Linked DNA regions of Homo sapiens: region 2 is linked to region 1. The links are contacts of gene promoters, found by promoter capture Hi-C in blood cells and fetal thymus (Javierre and others, 2016). All regions are on one chromosome and are shown on one strand. The core of a region is centred on a gene start or on the middle of the fragment in contact, and the rest is flanking DNA. Distances in the headings are between cores, read along the strand shown. Region 1 holds the start of IGFBP5 (insulin like growth factor binding protein 5). Region 2 has its middle 96 kb from the start of DIRC3-AS1.

What was found. The method cuts DNA at HindIII sites, captures the fragments that hold promoters and counts their contacts. A CHiCAGO score of 5 or more calls a contact.
Region 2: a fragment that was not itself captured here is called in contact with the fragment with the promoter of IGFBP5 in region 1 in 1 of 17 cell types (megakaryocytes); the score reaches 6.3 in megakaryocytes.

Annotation. Positions count from the first base shown.
Region 1 is chr2:216,693,903-216,696,841 of GRCh38, forward strand. It overlaps IGFBP5 (insulin like growth factor binding protein 5), which reads right to left and starts at 1,647. Exons shown (of 4, transcript NM_000599.4): 1 at 537-1,647. The coding sequence starts at 873. It overlaps IGFBP-AS1 (IGFBP5 antisense RNA 1), which reads left to right and starts at 544. Exons shown (of 6, transcript NR_187138.1): 1 at 544-859. The HindIII fragment of the contact is 8,390 bases long and covers 1-2,101 here.
Region 2 is chr2:217,184,793-217,187,702 of GRCh38, forward strand. No RefSeq gene overlaps it. Among named protein-coding and RNA genes, the nearest start is that of DIRC3-AS1, 96 kb to the right of the region's middle. The HindIII fragment of the contact is 2,976 bases long and covers 1-2,910 here.

The sequences.
Region 1 (2,939 bases), core at 397-2,896:
GATAGAAACGTCTGGAGGCACGGGGGTGGAGGGGCCAAGAGGGACAAAGGTGGAATTAGCTCAGAAGATAGGTAATGCCTCTCTCTCCAGGCCGCAATTAAAATAATATTTTAACAAAAGAGATTTTTTTTCCAAGTTCAGAAAAAAACCTATGCGGGGCGCGAGGGGGGTGGAGGAGGGAGTTGATAATGTAACATACACTCTTTCAGACTGTAGATAGGGTACCAGGGGATTTGGACCTTGTGACCGAATAAGAGCTCAGAATCAGTATTCGGACAGAGTAGGGGGAGGGGGCGGGCAACGTGTGGGTAGGAGGAAGGAGAAAGAGCGAAAGCTGGGATAGACTCGGCTAGACAGTTCCCCCGGGTAGCAGGATCCTCCAGGGCTCCAATTCCGGGGTGCAAGGACCCTCCCCGACTACTCCCGAGCTGCACCCCAGCTCGAAGCCACTTGCTGCGCAAAGCGCGCGGGCCCAGCCGGTCTCGTGTCCCCCGCCCGTGCGCCGCGTAACTGACTGGCACACTGAGCGCGCTCACCGATCTTGACTTGCTCGCGGTAGCTCTTTTCGTTGAGGCAAACCCCGCGGCCGTGCAGCAGGGCGTGCAGCGGCTTCTCCTCGTCCTGCCGGGGGAGGCAGCGCAGCCCCTGGGCGCAGCGCTCGGTGTAGACGCCGCACGACTGCCCCTCGGCCAGGGCGCAGGTCATGCAGCAGCCGCAGCCCGGCTCCTTGACCAGCTCGCAGCCCAGGGGGCTGGGGGGGCACATGGAGAGGGCTTTCTCGTCGCAGGGCTCGCAGTGCACGAAGGAGCCCAGGCTCTGGGCCGGCCCCGCATAGGCGGCCAGCAGCAGGAGGACCGCGGTGAGCAACACCATCTTCTCTTAGTCGCCCCCTTTACCTCGGGGTGGGGCAGGAGAGCGAGAGTGCAGGGATAAAGGGGCCAAGAGGGCCCCCGGAGATTTTTTTGTTTTTGTTTTTGTTTTAAAATTTCTGGCAGGTAGAGCAGGTGCCCTCCCCCAGACACTTGCAAAAATGTAGAGAGAGGTGGAGGGCTGGGGTGCCTGCGAGCAGGTCCCAGTTGCAAGAATTAAAGCCTTGCAACAGGTTGGGGGAAGCAGGGCAGCGCCAGGTGCACGCAGTGAGCGGAGGCCGGAGAAACCCTCAAGCCTGAGCGGGTCAGAATTATAGGGGAAAAAAAGCCACAAAATTGTTCACCCCCAAGCAACCACCGAAATAATGAGATCGGATGCAGTGGAGATGGCGTTGGGGGTGGGAGAGAAAAATGGATTTATCTTTAAAATTTTTGCTTAAAATCTAAAATACACCCCGCTTTCTAACCCTCAGCTGCCAGCGGTGCGCGGCGCCGCAGAACAGGTAAGAGGCGTTGGCTGCAGCCGAGAGGGTGGGAGAAAATGTTGAAATCAAGAAATTAAAAAACAAAAACAAAAACAAAAAAACCCCAAACCCTAACACCTCTTTTCTCCCACTTTGCCACCTCCTCTTCGAAATTCGCAGGTTCTACGCGAAGTCCGGAGAAGGGTGAAAACGGAGGAGGGGTAATGAAAAGGAGCAAAAAAGGGAAAAAGCCCACACTGCTTTGCAGCTCTTTCCTAGCTCTTTTCCCCTGCAGAAGTTTCCAAAGAGACTACGGGGCTCCGGGAGAGCAGGCGCTTTTAAATAGCCGGCCCCTGGCTGCCAGCCAGTTTGTAGCTGCAATTTGAGCTTCCCAACACCCAACTCAGGCAAGGATGCCAAGGAGCTTTGCAGTACAAACTCACACGGGGTGGGGGTGGGGAGAGGCCTTCTAGACACAAGGGGGCTCCCCTTCGCTCCCTGAACAGCGCCCTCCTCCCCTCTGAACAGCGCCCTCCTCCCCCCGGAATGTAAGAAAGGGGCAAGGGGGACAGGCTGGGGCTACCGAGAATGGGGAGGAGGTGGAGGGGCCAGTGGAAGACAGAGTTCTTCGGAGCAGGGTGAACACAATGAGGAGAGTAACTTCGTCTCCCCTTCCCTCCTATCCTTTAAGTAGTCAAGGCACAGGCTGAAGGGAGACGTATTTTCTTATTAGCCAACTGGATATACCGTGCCCAAGAAATCTTCCTAAGCTTCTGCAATTGACTGTATGCTGGTGTCTGTTTCCATGTGGGGTGTGTGTGTGTGTGTGTTTGGGGGACAGGTAGTGTAGAATGGCCAGTGATGTCTGGTGAGCTAAATTTAAAAAAGAAGAAAAAATTGAATTTCTCCCCTAAAAGTCTGGAGAAGAGGATTTAATCAGGGGGTTTCAGTACTCATGATGAAGAGGTGACCAGTTGCCTTCAGCTGCGTTGGCCAGGGAGGTTCTCTCTCTCTTTCTCTCTCTCTGTGTGTGTGTGTGTATGTGTGTGTGTTGTGTATCTGCAGGAATGGACATTCATACAACAGCATTATTGAGAGCAGTGAGTTGCAGAGATGGACACTTTGGAGGAAATGCTAAGTCTGAAAACCTTGCATGGTGGCCTAAAGTGTCCTTGTGTGTGGGGTTCTTAGAGGGAAGAAAGGTGGATTGGAGTGACACTTCCCTCTCTGTCACTTTGCAGAGGTATTTCTATTGGGCAGGGCCACATCCCTGGAGGGAGTGGGTGGCAGAGTAGCTGGAGGAGACCTTGTGATAGGTTGACAGGTTAGTTGGTGCTTATAGGCACATCCCAGGAATATGAGCTGACAGGGCCACAGGACCTGCTTGGAAGAGGTCCTGACCAGGAACCGAATCATGCCACTAGAACCTCTTTAATAAAATGAAAGAAAACTAAGGCCTTGAAATAGGAAGGTGGTGGTTTTAGCTTTTTCTGAAATTGACCTGAGTGAGCCATGAGCCTCACAGGCAAGTCAGAGAGAAATGACCAATGTCACTGCCCCTGCTGGGTGGACTTGGTGTGGGCTGTTACACCTTTTACATTGTGCT
Region 2 (2,910 bases), core at 181-2,680, 490 kb after region 1:
TCAGGATTGTCAAAATCACTGTCTTCCACCTCCACATCTTCTCCCACAGGAAGGTCTTCAAGGGCAATAGCATGCATGGAGCTGTCATTTCCTATGATAACAATGCCTTCTTCATGTCTTCCTGAAGGACCCATCTGAACTTGTTTTACAATTCACTTTTTTTTTTTTTTTTTTTTTTTTGAGATGGAGTTTCGCTCTTTATTGCCCAGGCTGGAGTGCAGTGGCGCAATCTCGGCTCGCTGCAACCTCTGCCTTCCAGGTTCAAGTGATTCCCCTGTCTCAGCCTCCTGAGTAGCTGGGATTACAGGTGCCCACCTCCATGCCTGGCTAGCATTTTTAGTAGAGACGGGGTTTCACCATGTTGGCCAGGCTGGTCTTGAACTCCTGACCTCAGGTGATCCGCCCACCTTGGCCTGGTGGGCTAGGTGTGAGCCACCGCGCCTGGCCAACATTCTTTTTAGTAAGTAGAAAGACCATACTCTAATGATAAAAAGTAACATATAGTAAATATAAAACCAGTGACATCATTGTTTATTATCATTATCAATTATTATGTACTGTACATCATAGTGTGTGCTAGACTTTTATACAATTGACAGCATCGTGGGTTTGTTTATACCAGCATCACCACAAACATGTAATGTCTTGCATTATGATGCTATGATGGTGACGTCATGATGGGTACAATATTACCATGGCTACGATGTCACTAGGCAATAGGAACTTTTCAGCTCCATTATAATCTTATGAGACCACCATCATATATGCAGTCCATCATGGACTGAAACATTATTATGTGTTGTGAACCGAGTCTTCTCTTTGCTTTTTTCAGGGCATTTTCTATGTTTTGCTGGCCATTTTGGACTGGGATAGATTTCTCTAACTTCGGGATTTCTCCCTTTAGCAGTTTCTGATGAACCATTCATGCCTGAATTATGATGTGTAAAATGCCACGTTGGATTCTCCAAGAACCTGCCATTTGTCATGCTTTTCCTTCTTGGGCCATGCATTCATTTGTTATCCCAGAGCACTCTGGAATGTCCTGGGCTCTAAATTAAGGGATCTAAATGACTCCTCTAGAAAGAAATGTGGGGAAAAATAAAAGTTAATCGGCCTCCACTAATAGAGGCAGGGCAGGGCAGTTTCTCTATCACTTCTTTCTGATCTCAAAAGTGTTCCTCCCAGTACAAATGAAGAGAAGGAATTTAAGACCCCCTGGGCTTAAGAAAAGGAGGAGAGAAGGAAGACAGAAACGTGAGGGATAACTGCATGCCCTTGGGGATGTATGTCTGCAATAGATGCCATTGCCTCAGAGGAACCTTCCAAGGAACAATTCCAAATTACATTCTACTGAAACTAGGGTGACTATAAAATGGATCATCCAAATAGGACACTTTTAAAGGAAAGTGGACACTACTAGTAGTTATGTTAGACAATAGGCATAAACTGAGACTGTGCCTGCTCACCCATATCAGTGACCGAGTGGATGAACTTTACCCGAGAACCCACTCTGTGTCAGTGGCGGTGTCCGGCTGTGTTCATGTTCGGCACTCACCCAAGACATGTGAGTCCAAGACAGGGACATCCCTCATGTTGCAATATAAGAAATTGACACAGTTGGGACTTCAAGCTCTACTACCAAAGTTCAAAGTTTGGTTTTGAAATTTCAACAGTTATTAGTAGACCAACTAGGGGTAAAGGCAGACTCCTTCCTGATTCTGGAACAGAATATGAAGTACGTATGTAAAGAGAACTAATGTATGCGTTGGAAGGGGAGATGGCAAGGTCACATTACCATCTGAGTTTGGGTTTTTCTTACATGTGTCACTTGGCCCAGTTTTTATTAGTAAGTGGCGACAGAGTGAGAAGCAGGAAAATTTGATTCGTGGACTGCATTTGGTTGGGTTCCTCCCACACTCAGCAGGTCCAAGACCTACCCTGTTTTACTAAAGGATGCAGCCAGCTTCCTTTCCCCAGGGAATGCTTTCAGCAGAGAGAAGCTCAGTTATGGCTTATGTCTCATGACTTTTCCCTAATCTGCTTCATCCTAATCTGTTCTCAGGATATTAAAAAATAATAATCAGGGAGCATCCAGAGGCCAAGAATATCAAATCCTGCTTCCTCCAGCTTCCCCAGTCTCTGCTTTTCCACTAGAACTGGCTCAGAAGCTGCAGGACTCAATATCCCCCCTGCAATCAAGGCCAGGGATGAGCTGGACAGATTGGGACAGGTTTTTGGAAGCAGCAGAGGGGCTGATCTTTGAAAACAGAATGTACTAAAAGCAGTTCTTGGAAAGTCAAAGGAGGTTAAAACTGTAGTCAGCATCATTTTCTCCCTCGTGTAGTTAATGACCTTTTTCACTGACGATTCATGGGTTAGATGTGAACATCTGTCCCACAGTGGGAAAAAGATGAATAAATATCTGAATTAAATTAGGACCAGAAGCAATGATCATCAGTCATTTACTGTTTCTTCATTGGTTTATATTACATTTGTTCATCCACTAATTCATTAGTTCAAGTGTCAATTTTTTATTCTCTGTCATGTGTTCCTGCTTTTTCCAAGTTTATAGCCTGGTGCTGGGGTGGGGGGTGGTGAGTGGGAGACGCAGACAATTAAATGGACAAATGCATAAAATGATCCATAGGCTTTGATAGGAGTACAAAATAGTATGAGAGTACCTAACGTGGACTTCCAACCTAAGCCAAGGGGTCAAGGGAAGAAGTTTCTCAGAGAAAGTGACACACAAACTGATACCCATAGAATCTCATAGAAATCAGTCAGTCTGAGAGAAAATGAACTTAGAAAAAGTGCTCAAGGTCTGGGTGCAAGAGGACATGGCTCATCCAAGGAACTATAAGATGGTCAGTAAGACTGTAAGACAAGAGGGCAGGAGAATAGGAAAGGACG